Regions from separate parts of the Homo sapiens genome. Here all the other regions are linked to region 3. The links are contacts of gene promoters, found by promoter capture Hi-C in blood cells and fetal thymus (Javierre and others, 2016). All regions are on one chromosome and are shown on one strand. Each heading gives the region's core, a stretch centred on a gene start or on the middle of the fragment in contact. The rest is flanking DNA. Distances are from core to core; before and after follow the strand shown.

Evidence for each region. Contacts are between HindIII fragments. The CHiCAGO score rates a contact against its expected background, and 5 or more counts as called.
Region 1: a fragment that was not itself captured here is called in contact with the fragment with the promoter of C11orf40 in region 3 in 8 of 17 cell types (M1 macrophages, M0 macrophages, M2 macrophages and 5 more); the score reaches 10.4 in M1 macrophages.
Region 2: a fragment that was not itself captured here is called in contact with the fragment with the promoter of C11orf40 in region 3 in 8 of 17 cell types (M0 macrophages, M1 macrophages, M2 macrophages and 5 more); the score reaches 8.4 in M0 macrophages.
Region 4: a contact is called between a fragment that was not itself captured here and the fragment with the promoter of C11orf40 in region 3, in 8 of 17 cell types (M2 macrophages, M0 macrophages, M1 macrophages and 5 more). The highest score is 11.8, in M2 macrophages.
Region 5: a fragment that was not itself captured here is called in contact with the fragment with the promoter of C11orf40 in region 3 in 1 of 17 cell types (erythroblasts); the score reaches 5.9 in erythroblasts.

Annotation. Positions count from the first base shown.
Region 1 is chr11:4,212,686-4,215,385 of GRCh38, reverse strand. No RefSeq gene overlaps it. Among named protein-coding and RNA genes, the nearest start is that of SSU72L5, 19 kb to the left of the region's middle. The HindIII fragment of the contact is 2,918 bases long and covers 1-2,700 here.
Region 2 is chr11:4,195,554-4,198,253 of GRCh38, reverse strand. The region is part of intron 1 of LINC02749 (long intergenic non-protein coding RNA 2749); the gene reads right to left. Among named protein-coding and RNA genes, the nearest start is that of LINC02749, 9.8 kb to the right of the region's middle. The HindIII fragment of the contact is 3,403 bases long and covers 1-2,700 here.
Region 3 is chr11:4,576,559-4,579,258 of GRCh38, reverse strand. It overlaps C11orf40 (chromosome 11 putative open reading frame 40), which reads left to right and starts at 1,439. Exons shown (of 4, transcript NR_172945.1): 1 at 1,439-1,579. The HindIII fragment of the contact is 3,404 bases long and covers 416-2,700 here.
Region 4 is chr11:4,177,811-4,180,510 of GRCh38, reverse strand. No RefSeq gene overlaps it. Among named protein-coding and RNA genes, the nearest start is that of LINC02749, 8.0 kb to the left of the region's middle. RefSeq lists enhancers at 717-1,243, 1,244-1,771. The HindIII fragment of the contact is 1,451 bases long and covers 688-2,138 here.
Region 5 is chr11:5,020,100-5,022,799 of GRCh38, reverse strand. No RefSeq gene overlaps it. Among named protein-coding and RNA genes, the nearest start is that of OR52J3, 25 kb to the left of the region's middle. The HindIII fragment of the contact is 1,764 bases long and covers 482-2,245 here.

The DNA.
Region 1 (2,700 bases), core at 114-2,613, 360 kb after region 3:
AAAATGGCAGAGGGCATGGAGAGAAGGAAGTCACACAGCTGATTCCAGAAGCCCTTTCTCTGACTAGAGAGAGGGTGACTTCTCTACTAAATCATTCTGCTGTTTCTTCTGTTCCCTCTAGACTCTAGTGCCTATGGCCAACCTTGGAAAGGCATGGCCAAAGCACCTGTGTGAGCCACTGCTACAGAATCTGGAGGAGCTGACATAGAGAAGAAACTCAGGTTCCTCCTGAAGGACCCATCCATGGAGAGGTCCTCCCAGATACCCTGGGGCGAGGTGATGAAGACCTGGGACAAGGCCCTCAGCCACAGGAAGAAGATGACCATGAAGAGCTTGGGGAAGCAAATGCAGAGAAAGGCCTGTGTGTGTGGTAAGTGTGGGAAGGATTTGTGTTTGCGGCAACCACCCTCTGCTGTTCTCCCTTTGCATCCTGCCTTCTTTCAGTTCTAGTTTTCCCTTTAGATCCTTTTTTTCCTTTCACCTCCTCATCACCCACCCCTTCACTTCCCTCCACTGTTTGCCCACCATCCCTTTTCCTCCTGTTCCTCATTAGCCTGTGTGTGTGTGTGTGTGTGTGTGTGTGTGTGTGTGTGTGTGTGTCCTTGATTACCTCCACCTGTTCTTTCCACTTGCCATTTCAAAGGTGAAATGTCCTGCTCTCACTCAGAGATAATGTAGCTCCTCACTAGGTGGAAAGCCAGCATATTTTCACATGTTCAGTGACCTTGCCTGGAAGGAAGTAAAAGTCAGTTGACCCCAAAAAGCCCATCGCCACCACCACCACCTCAAGACCAGAGTTCAGGGGCCATGTTCTGGGTCAGTGACCTACTGGTATCACCAGAGTGAAGCTGAAAGGGGCCAAGAAGATGTATAAGCAATTCCAGGAAGGTCTGTAATAAGACTTTGAGGAGAGCCAGAAAGAACTTTCCCCTCCTTGGCCAGAAGCAATGCACGCCACAGAGTTCTGAGGGAAAGGGCCCTAGCGCTGCTTTCCTGGGGAGTGAGGCGCACACTCCACACCCACCTGAGTCCCCTGTCCACTGTTTCCTGGATCCGGTTTTAGTCTGTTGTGCAGCTTCCCTAATAAGGGGTAAGTGTTTCTTTGGCTGGCTGAAAGAGGCCTGCTCCTTTCCTGGTGCTATGAATCCAGGTGGGACTGCAGTGGCTCTTCTATGGCCATTGACTGTGTGAGCCCCACGGTAAGGCGGGGAGGAGGCAGGACAGGATGCAGGCATCCAAAGACACCACTGTGAGCTCTCTGAGGGGTCAGAAGACACAGAGAGCCATCCCTTATCACTTAGGAAATTCTGAGTTATTGACAATAAATGTGGCAGGGTACAGGAGGAGAGAGCTCTTGTAATTAAGTGATTGCTTCAAATATATCACCGCCCTCTAGAGATGGGAAATACCTAGACCAAGAATTCTTTCAGAGCCATATCTCAGATACGACAGGACTTCCTGTCGTAAGATAATAAACAGTACCATACTTTAAAAGCCAGTATTTCTAGTATCATAGTATTACTGTGTTTCTCTCTGTTTATCCCTGAGCCCCAGGGAGGTCTTGTTAGAGTGTACCAGCACTGTGACAGCTGGCAGATGGGGCACTGAGAGCCGGAGGAGGTGAGGACCGGTCACTCCACAGGCCTCCCCGACGTCTGCAGCGCTTGTAGGGACATCTAAGGGGCCAGTGTGACTTAAATACACTGCATAAGTTTGAAATGCATGTAGTTTTAGCTTTTGTTAAAATGGTTTTCCTTTATAGTCAGTTTTGAGGGTTTTTTAAATGTTATAAACATCTTTTTCATTGTTACTACTTTTTTTCCGTTTTCGTCCATCCTAGAAAAAAAAAATGTTGCCCTCAAAATTATCTTGTCTTTCTGCAATTGCCTTTGAGAAGGCTCATCTTCTCCAGACACATTATCATCTGAAATCAGTAGACAATCTTGTATTCTGTGACTGAACCCAAGTTTATTTCATCCAAACAACTTCAAACACCCAAGCAACAATATATACCTAGTATATTTTAGGACATCAGTAATGTCCTTTAAAAAGTGAACCTTTTTTTAAGCTACATTTTCTCATGTGTGTTCATTGAGGTTCTTACAGAAAGCTGCACTGCACGGTTGTCGGCCCTTTTTAAAGTCAACAGTTGACTCAGAAATAAAATATACTTAAAAATCTTATTATTTCTTATATTTTAAGTTCAGTTTTTAAAACTTTCTAAAAAATGTTACCGGTCATTTTTAAGTAGCCATTACAACCTAGTTAATAAGTCTTCATAAAAAATTCAAAGTGTTTATAAATAATTACAGTTTTGATTTCCTTAAATATAGAGATTGATTTTCATTTTAAAAATGTTTTAATAAGTTTCTAACTAGTTCTTATAATCTAATAAAATAAATTTAGAATTATAGTGGATGTGAGGTTCTCATACATGTTGTTAACATAACTTGCTGAAATATTATTACACATTTCAATTTAAAATTACTTCTTGGTAATTATTTATATGCACATTTAAAAGTTGACGTCAGGCATGGTGGCTCACTCCTATAATCCTAGCACGTTGGAAGGCCGAGGCAAGATCACTTGAGCCCAGGAGTTCTTGATTAGGCTGGGCAACAGTGAGACCCCCAACTCTATTTTTAAAAATACATAAATAAAAGTTGAAATCTGTTAAGCACTATATCTGGTAGGTACTAT
Region 2 (2,700 bases), core at 74-2,573, 380 kb after region 3:
AAAAATAAAATTATTTTATTCAAAAAAAAAAAGAAAAAAGAAAAGTCCTGGCCGGGTGCTGTGGCTCACGCCTGTAATCCCAGCACATTGGGAGGCCAAGGTAGGCAGATCACCTGAAGTCAGGAGTTTAAGACCAGCCTGGCCAACGTGGTGAAACCCCGTCTCTACTAAAAATTCAAAAATTAGCCGGGCGTGGTGGCGGGCACCTGTAATCCCAGCTACTCAGAAGACTGAGGCAGGAGAATCGCTTGAACCTGGGAGGGGGAGGTTGCAGTGAGCCGAGCCTGTACCACTACCCTCTAGCCTGGGCAACAGAGCAAGACTCTGTCGCAGAAAAAAAAAAAAAAATCCCAAAATAAATTAAACACTGAGAGAAAAGATCGGTAATATATAACACAGATACATATGTAATATCGCTAATATATAAATAACTTTTTCTACTCGATAGAAGTTTCAAAAACCTGATATAAAAATGGTCAAATAGTCAAAGACATAAACAGACCATTGACTGAAAAAAGAATTAAAATGTCCCGTAAACATGTGAAAAAACATTCAGCCTCAACTATAATAAGAGAAATGCAAATTAAAATAACACTGAGATATTATCTCTCACCTAGCAGATTGGCAAAAATGTAAACATACACTAACACGTTCTGTTGGCAAGGCTTGAAGAAAGTAGATGCTCAAGCATTTCTGATGGGAATGGAAATTAGTACAACCTTAATGGGGGAGAATTTGATGATATCAAACAAAATGGCACATGCTTTTCCCCCTTTTTATAATTTATCCTGGTAATACATATTCAAATATATACAAAAATACATATGTTTAAGGATTTTCATTGTAGCATTGTTTATAATTGAAAAATATTAGAAACAACCAAAATGACTTTACATAGGAAAATGGTTGAATGAACTATGGTACATCATCGAATGGAATAGTCTGCAGCTATAAAAATGAATGAGGATGACATCTATAAACTGATATAGAATGGCTCCCAAGATATGCTGTTAAATTTAAAAAGCAAAGTGTGAGAAAGTGTTTATGGTATGCCACGTTTTGTGCAAGAAAGAAAGGGGAATAAGAAAATATATATTTGTCTGCACAACTATACAAAAAGAAACTTAGGAAAGGAAACCCAGAAACTAATGAGATTGGTTCCATACAGGAGTGGGTGGAAATGGAGTGACTAAAGTTGCAGATAGCAAAATAAGTCACTTTTGTCAGACCCGAGCAAACTGGAGCCAGAACACACAAAGGAGCACAGCTCATGCTTGCACATCTGAGATAAGGACTATTTCAAGGACTTTCTAAAATAACTCCACGAGAAATTCCTTCATCTTTTATACATCTCATGCTTTTCATGATCTACATTTTACATGCATTTTACATTTTACATGCATGCACATATTTCTATGACCAGGTTTATCACTATACATTCTTTAGGACTGTAGCAATTCTGATAAGATGCTAGGCCGATGCCTAGCAGTGGCATCTCCACCAATGAACTGATGCTAATTCTAGCTTTGAGCCTCCAGAACCAATGAACTCTGTCTCCAAGCAGCTTACATAGCTTCTCCTTGCCAGTAAAAATTTCCCTTTACCTTTGGCTTGATGTACCTGTACCTATGGCTTGCTACAGCTGTGCTTCCCAGATTATAATCCTTTTGCTTACTCCCGAATAAACTCAACATATTAGGATATATTTTTCTCTGATGTCTTTTTTTAGCCTGATGGGTGAAAAGAATAAGATGGTGGGAGCAAGGTAGAGAAGATGGAGGGCAGTGACACTTCTCTGAGTTCATGTTTTTGTACAGATCTGTTCTGACTTTTACAACCATGTTAATGTTTCATGTACTCAGTTTTTCAGTAAATACAATCAACAAGGATAAAAGGAGGAAACATTAGCATTGAATACATATGGAAGCAAGTGTACCGAACTGTAGGTTAAGTGAATGACAAAACACAGTACGGGTAGGGGGTGATAACAGAAGTTTTGAAGCAGTACTTTGCCTCTGTATTCTCAGGCTAGGGCAAAAAGACAGTAGCAAATATTGAACTCTGTTTAATAGATTTGTTTCCCACACCAGCATGAGTTAACAATTCTGAAACTACATTCTGTGTATTCTAGGATTAAGCAAATAAGTAAATATACTGTGGGTAACTGAAACCAGGTTTTTCACGGTTGGAGAAGGAAATTACATATATGGAAAGAGAGAAGGTTAAAATGAACTCTAGAGTGTTGGATTGGAACTGGTCATATCAGTATGAACTCATGGTTTTTAAGAAAGATAGGTAGGTAAGTAGGTAGGTAGATAGATGAATGGATTTGCATGTGTGTGTGTGCATATTTACATAATATATATACTACACACACATGTGTGTATATGTATGACAGGGCCTAAAAATAACAACACTCTGGCAATGAACAGACCTATTCCAGGTCTTGGTTTGTTTTTATACACAATTCTCTGCTAAAAGGAATCAGGGTTTCTTAGAAAAATACCAGATTACAGAGTTTGAGCCGGGAAAGTACAAGATGAGCCTGGAATATCTTGTAGTAACAGAAAGTAAGGAAGTGCTCAAAAAGTAATAGCAGTGTGTCAAAAAGACACAAGAATCAACTTGGAGGAGCTCTCACAGGACTAATCTGGGATAATTTTGATCATCAAAATCACCAATGCTAGTAACAAAGCATAA
Region 3 (2,700 bases), core at 190-2,689:
ATATTGGAGTGGCTTAGAATAGGGACTTCTCAAATGTTAATATGTATACTTTTTACATCAGTGTTGTAGGCATCAGGGGTATGTTAAGCTCCAGACTGAAGCCAAGAAAGAGAATTTAGATGCTGAATTTCTAGCTGATAAAGTGACATATAGGTCTATATTCGGTATCTCTAATGACTCCAACCTATTTGGATCCATTTTGTAGTCTTTTTTGTAATGGAAATTTGCACTTAAAATGGACTAGGACACACATTAGGCAGCTGAAGAAAGTATAGCATAAAAGGAAGAGATGATATAGTCGACAAGTGGCTAGATTTTAGGGTATAGTGGAAATCTTTGCCTGCAGACGTTATAACCTCAGAAGTTACGTTGAGGGGAACTAGGGATTAAGTCTGAAATTCATTAGGCCAAAGCTTTGTTCCTATTTGCCACCTCAGCATAAAGGCAAATGTCCGGCTTGTGTGTGTATGTGTGTTTGTGTGTGCATACACGCATGCGTGCAAGTATTGATACACAAGTCCCATGTCAATCACACAGTCCTTTTTGCTTAAGCTAATTTTCACTAGGAAGAACCCTGCCATATTTTCCAAGGGAATAAATTCATTTTGGGCCATCAAGAGCCAGCCATAATACCACCTAATGAAAAAATCTACAAGATTCTAGTTATTTCTTCACAAAAGTATCTCTTTTTTTATTACAGAGAATGCAACAGAATTGTTCAAACAGCAGAATATCCTTAGAGATGGATCAGCTTAATGAGTCTCTTGAGATTGAGGTTCAGGTCAAGACACATCAATTACTTAAGGTCTTTGGCCTCCTGCCAGGAGAATTTATCACTTCCAGCTCTCTACGTGTGTCCTTCTCTACAATTTCCATTGCTAAAAAGTTAACCAATAAATACAAGCACATTTTAAGTGAGCTTTAAATGTATTTTCCAAATTTGTCTGATATTTTCGTTCTAATAGTTTTGTTTCTGTTATTTTATGCCTGAATCTTTTAAAAACCAAAATTGAGAAGGTGAATATATTTTTTGTCTGTTTATATTGCTTCTTACAGACTTTTATTTATTTTTGGTCCTCATTTTTAAATTATGTTTAATTTTATTCTACCTGTTTCATAATGTCTTAACAAACAGGAACTATGATAAGAAGCATGGGAGCAACAATGGGAGAGTCCATTCTATCATCAGGAAAAGTCTGACCATTTATTCCCTTCACCCATTGTAACGTATATGGATGTGTTTTGGTCAAGGAATAAGCCAAGGCAGATATCCAGGCCTGCATGATTCAGCAAGTTTGTTGCACAGGTGCACACTTCTACTTGTTATATAGATTGTTTGTGTAAGTTCATACTTGGCTCTGAGCCACTATTGTCTGTAAAAGGTATAATTGCCTTGCTAACACTATACAGGGACTTTTGGGGCTTGGCTCAACTCAACATGGCTCTAGTGCAGGCGCTGGTGCCCAGAGAAAGAGAGCCAAAGCTGTCCATTTTGCAGATGGACAGAGGGGACCCACAACACAGCTCACACTGGTGCCCAGAGAGAGAAAAAGTTAAGCTGCTGACCCTGAAGCCAAGGGTGAGCCGGCTATGCAGCTGCAGGCATGGGGGCGGCAGGAGCCACAGAGCCAGAGCACACAGTTGAGATAAAGGTGGACAGTGTGAGAAAGTTGTTAATAAGAACTGCTGCTGAATGAAGTCATCTTTCACCTGCATATGGACCCCCGAGTGTTCTTTCTGTTCATCCACCCACTCCCCTCGGACTTCAGCATGGGCTGGACCTGAACCCTAGGATCTGACACCCATCTCAAGTCCTCTCAGAAGACTAATCAGATATAAACTTTCCCCAGCTGTAAACTGTGTAGCTCCACACAGATCCCCCCCTTGAAGCACTCATTACCTCATAAGCTGGGAGCTATCAGCTGCTGATAGTTCACACCTACATTTCTTTCAGGAATTACCTTCAGCCAAAGGGAACTCTATTACCCTAAATTAGCCACCCTCCGTTTGCAATGATTGTATTTAATGACTAGTTGATGGTGAGTTTAAAGGCCTGACTCCCTTGCCTAACTCAGGACAAGTGTGTAGGACCATCTCTACTCCAGAGTTTCTCGTAAATCAGCTGGGAAGTCTGATGAAACTCCGTTGTAATTCACCTTCTCCCTCTGCAAAATTCTGCTTCCTTTGCACCTGTTGAGACATTGTTTGTGAGCTTACTTTCTGATAAACTTTCAGCATGGAAAGGTCTCAAAGTCAGTTTCTAAGGAACCCAACTTAAGACAGTTGATAGCAGGAATGGCCCCAGAAAGTAGACTCTCAAGTGTGATTATAAGCTGGCAGGCTGGAAATGAGGACCCAGAAAACTGTTTTCTAAGTTGTCCTGAACACAATTAGGACAAGAGAATCCTTACCATGCTAAACCATATGCTTCCCTTTTCTTCTTCTTTTGCTAGTTTAAAAGATACTTTTTGATAGGAAAAATTCACTGAAAGTTAACTAATATTGGTTCTGTGACTTTATTCTGAGTTGGTTCTAGATCTGATCATAGAATCTAGGGAGTGATGTATATTTCACAATGTAGAGTTCATTTTCTTTACTGTCAAGTTTAAGATTCTAGCCCATGTCTGGCAATGGCAACTTTTTTTTCTTGTGAATCCTGATGTTAAATTTTGGAAGGTGAATTATGATACTGTAGTTACA
Region 4 (2,700 bases), core at 164-2,663, 400 kb after region 3:
AATCCATTCATTACATAATCACCTCTTAAAGGTCCCACCTCTCAACATTGTTTCATTGGAGATTAAGTTGCCAATACATGAACTTTGGGGGACACATGCAAACCAAACCAGAAATTTTCTTTGGCCCACTTTCCTAGAAGAGCAGCTAAGGTTGGAGAGGCCAGAGGATCCCCCTGAGGGGACAGAGACCCATTTTTAAGACTAGATACAGCAGGATAGGAGGTATTAGCCTGAGTGAGTAGGGTGGGCAAGAGGAGAGGAGACCTGGCTTGTCCTGGTCCCATGCCTGCCTCATTTGGAGAAAACAATCTGCCCCCAGTGCCAAAAGCTCCTCCAGCTCCCAGCAATCAGGGTGAACTCAGGAGATAGGAGTCAGGGGGCCAACTCCAGACCTGGTTCTGTTACCAACTGGCTATGAGATTGCTCACTCCAAAGCTCAGTTCCCTCATCTGTAAAGTGGGTTGGTACCACCTACCTCCCAAGTGTTCGAAAAATCAAGTCAATTGGGGAACATGAAAGAGCTTCCCAAACTACAATCATACAAAATTCACTAGAAACATCACAAGTTTGATGCAGGAAGGGAAAGGCCATGAGAAGCCACCAGTCCAACATCTACCTTCTATGGAAGAGGAAATAAGAGTCCCTGGCCCAAGGGCACTTGCCAGAACCTGTGTCAGATCTCAAGCTTCTTGACTCGCTTCTCCTCTCTGCTTCCTTTCGGTGTACCCAGGCTGAGGCCTTGTACACTCAGTTTCCCAAGGCTGGGTGGTTGGGGTTGGTGTACAAAAAGGAGTTACAGATTAGAAGCTCTTAGAAGTCCTGCCCAAAGTTAGAGTGGATTATGCAGCCTGCAAACCAATGGTTAGCAGAGGAAGGGGTTGACTGAGAGCATCAGCTTGCAACTCCACCCCCCACCCCCAACAGAGGGGTGACAGTACATTTCATATGGCCTGAGGAAAGGCTACCCAACCTACAGCCTCTGCAGCTGCTGGATGATCCCAGGGTCAAAACAGAAGCCATTGGCACGGATTCCAGTGCCCCCAGCAGCAGTTACTATGCATTTCACAAGCCCTGAGGACAGACTCCCCTGCCCCACAGCCACTGCCACTGCCAAAGCACAAGCAAAGTGCATGCTCCCCAGCTCCCTGCCTACTGCTGCCAAAGCACAAGCAAAGTGCATGCTCCCCAGCTCCCTGCCTACTGCTGCCAAAGCACAAGCAAAGTGCATGCTCCCCAGCTCCCTGCCTACTGCTGCCAAAGCACAAGCAAAGTGCATGCTCCCCAGCTCCCTGCCTACTGCTGCTGCCACTGAAAGCAACCCTGTGCTCCCCAGTAGCAGGGTGGCAGTGACACCTCCACCCCAACATACCACCAGGAGCCTAGGGATCACCTGCCTCTGCCTAACACAGCCAGTGCCTACACACACTACTAAGGGGCCTAAGGAGCCAGGCCTGGCTCCACTCCTCCTTCCCAGTGCCTAAGCATGTCATCTTTGGGTATGGGAATCACCCAACCCAGTTCATCACCTTTGGCACCCAAACACTTTCCCAGGGCCTGAGATCAGGCCCACCCAACCTGCCTCTACCACCACAGCTGACACCCACACATACGTACGCACTATGTGCCTAGGGACTGGCCTCCCAAGCCCAATGCAGCCACCAGAAATTATTTAATAAAATCATGTATCAATAATAACCTTGAATACAAACAGATTAAACTTTCCAAATAAAAGACAAAGACTGGCTAAATGAATTAAAAAACATGACCCAACTATATGCTTCCTAAAAGAAACTCACCTTATGTATAAAGACACATATAGATTTAAACTAAAGGGATGAAAAAAGTCCATGCAAATGAAAACCAAAGGCAAGCAGGAATAGCTGTACATATAAGAGATAAGACAGACTTTAAGTCAAAAACAATAAAAAGAGATAAAGACAATCATTATATAATGATAAAGGGATCAATTTGGCAAAAGAATATAACAATTCTAAACATATATGCACCCAACATCAGAGCACCCAGATATATAAAGCAAATATTATTAGATGTAAAGAAAGAAGTAGACTCCAGTACAATAAGAGTTGTGAACTTCAACACCCCACTCTCAGCATTAAACAGATTATCTAGACCAAGCTTGTTCAACCTATGGCCTGCAGGCCACATGCAGCCCAGGATGGCTTTGAATGCAGCTCAACACAAATTCATAAACTTTCTTAAAACATAATGAGAGCTTTTGCAATTTATTTTAAGCTCATCAGCTATTCGTTAGTGTTACTGTATTTTATGTGTGGCTCAAGACAATTCTTTTTCCAATGTGCCTTAGGGAAGCCAAGAAATTGGACACCCCTGATCTAGACAGAAAATTAACAAAGAAACATTGAATTAAAACTGCACATTATACCAAATATACCTAACAAAAATTTACAGGACATTTCATCCAACAGCTACAAAACACACATTCTTCTCATCAGCATATGGAACATGCTCCAGGATAAACCATATGTTAGCACACAAAACAAGTCTCCACAAATTTTTAAATATCAAAATCATATGAAGTACCTTCTCAGACCACAATAAAATAAAACCAGAAGTTAATAACAAGAGGAATGTTGGAAACTGCACAAATATATGGAAATTAAACAACATGTCCCTGAATGGCCATTGGATCAAAAAAGAAATTTAAAAGGAAATCAAAAA
Region 5 (2,700 bases), core at 114-2,613, 440 kb before region 3:
TTCTTAATTGCAGTATTCACTTCATTTTGGTGATCTTGAACCAAATGAAGTATCTCTAAAGTACAGGTGTATCACTAGAATTAAGCTGGTATAAATCTAAAACTGATTCTTTTCAGAGGAGATGTAAGCTATGGACAACCATTAAGGAAAACATCAGTAATATATAACAAAAATAGTTAAATAAATTAAATCTTAAGACAGTATTATTTTAGAACAAAAGAAAGCAGAAGAGAAGGAATAGAGAAACATACAAAAATGAGACATATAAAGAGCAAAAAGTAAAATTGCAGATGTAAATCCAACTATATCAATAACACTAAATACAAATGGATTCACAATTCAAAAAACTGAGTTTGTCAGACTTGAAAATTAAGTACGATTGCAAGCAAAATGGCAGAAAAGGAGATATCCTACTTATATGCCACATAGCAACAAGAATTTGGAAGCAATTTGTATATACAAAAGCTCCTTTGTAAAAGCTTTTGGATTAAGGTAGGAGGTTGCAAAACTCTATTGGAGCCCTAAATTGAGGAGAGCTATTTTGAGCTGACAGGCCTGCATTTAGGTGACAGTCTTGCTGAACAGAGTCCTGGACAGAGGCCTGGAAATGATTCATCCCACTATAGACTCAGCTACAACCTGAGTTTGCCCTCAGTCCTTCAAATATAACTATCCGCCAAGGGACTGGAAGAAGTCATGTCCGTCCATGCCTTGGGTAAAAGGCCTTGTTTTCAGCTTTGAAGTAACCATGTAACTCATCTCCAGTCTTTGTCATCTATGGTCTGAGAGTAGTCATTCCTGCACAGGGACCTGTAGGGAGAGAAGTCCATTCATGCGTCTTGAGGCAGGCCTAAATAATAACATTCTGACCACAGATCTTGAAGCCCTCCTGTGATCCAGCTTCTGCCCCACTGAGACACATTCTAGGGATAATCCTGTCTGCCCAGGAACATTGAGGGAGGCATGACCATCTGTGCCTCTGGAGGCAGGCCTGCTGACCTTGGCCTTGGCTGTGGACCTTGAAGCAGCCTTGTGATTTAGTTTCAATCCCTCTCAGTGACAGTTGAGGGCCATTCCAGCCAAGCCATGTGCATAGCCAATGACATAGAGGGAGCCCTCCCAGGGACCTAGAGGAAGCCAGACTTGACTGCACACCTGGTAACATACCTGCCACCTGAAGAGCTAGCTGTGGACCTTGAAACAAACCTTATTTCAGTGCCAGCTCTACTGACCAATTTCCTGGTATTATCTAGTCCATCCAAAAACAAGACAGAGGCCACACTCGCTTTAGCCCCTCATAATACACCCACTAATCACAGATTGCACTGTAGACTCAGCAGCAGCAACATAACTCAATTCCACACTAACTCAACTCAGATCTTACAGGCAACTTCATCAGCCTGGACAACCAACAAAAGAAGGTCTTTACTTTCAAAATCAGTCAACAAAGTCTAGAAGAGATGTTTTCTCCTTCAAATGTGCAGACACCAATGCAAGGCTACCTGCACAACAAAGAATTAAGCAAGCATAACACCACCAAAGAAAACTACTAAAACTTCAGTTATTGACCCCAAAGCAATGGCGATTGACAAATTACCTGACAAATAACTCAAAATAATCAGCTTAAAGAGGGTTGATGAAATGCAAGAGAACACAGATAAACAACTAAACACAACGAAGAAACAATACAGCAACAAACAAGAAGTTTAATAAAGAAATAGAAACCATAAAAAAGAACTAAACAGAAAACCTAGAGTCAAAGAATACAATAAAAGAACTGAAAAATACAATAGATATCTTCAACAGCCAACTCAATAATACCAAGAAAAAAATTATTGACCATGAAGAAAGTCATATAACATTAATAAATTAAAGGAACAAAAAGAAATAATGATTTTAAAAAACTGTTAAGAAAGCATAAAGAACCTATGGGAACCACCAAGCAAACAAACATACGAATTATGAGATTCCCAGAATGAGAAGAGAGAAAGAAAGGGACAAAAAAGCATTGGTAAATAGTGTCTGAAAATGTTCCAGATGTTGGGAGAGACACAGGCATCCAAATTAGCAAAGCTCAGATGACCTCTCATAAAATCTAACAAAAGAAGAACACCCCAAAATATGATAATCAAACTGTCAAAGGCCAAATAAAAAGAGAGAATCTTGAAAGCAGCACACGAAAAGAGACTTGCCACTTACAAAGAAATGTCTACGAGGTTATCAGCAAAATTCTCAGCAGAAAGCTTGCAGGCCAGGAGAGAGTGGTATCAGATAGTCATTTTTTGTCCAAAGAAGAGAAATAAATGACCAACAGGCATAAGAAAAGGTTTTCAATATTATTAATTATCAGAGAAGTGTAAATCAAAACCACAGCAAAATATTGCCTCATATCTATTAGGATGGCCATTATCAAAATGACAAGACATAAGAAGAGTTGGCAAAAGTTTGGAAAAAAAGGAACCCTTTACACTGTTGATAGGAATACAAATTGGTAGAGTCATTCGGGAAAACAGTGTGAAGATATTAGAAAAACTGAAAAATGAAACTACCATACAATCCAGTAATTCCACTTCTAGGTATACATCCACAGGAAATAAAATCAGTATTTCAAAAAGATATTTGCACCCCATATGTTCATTGCAGAATTACTTACAATAGCCAATATATGAAAACAACACAAATGTTCATATACAGAAGAAT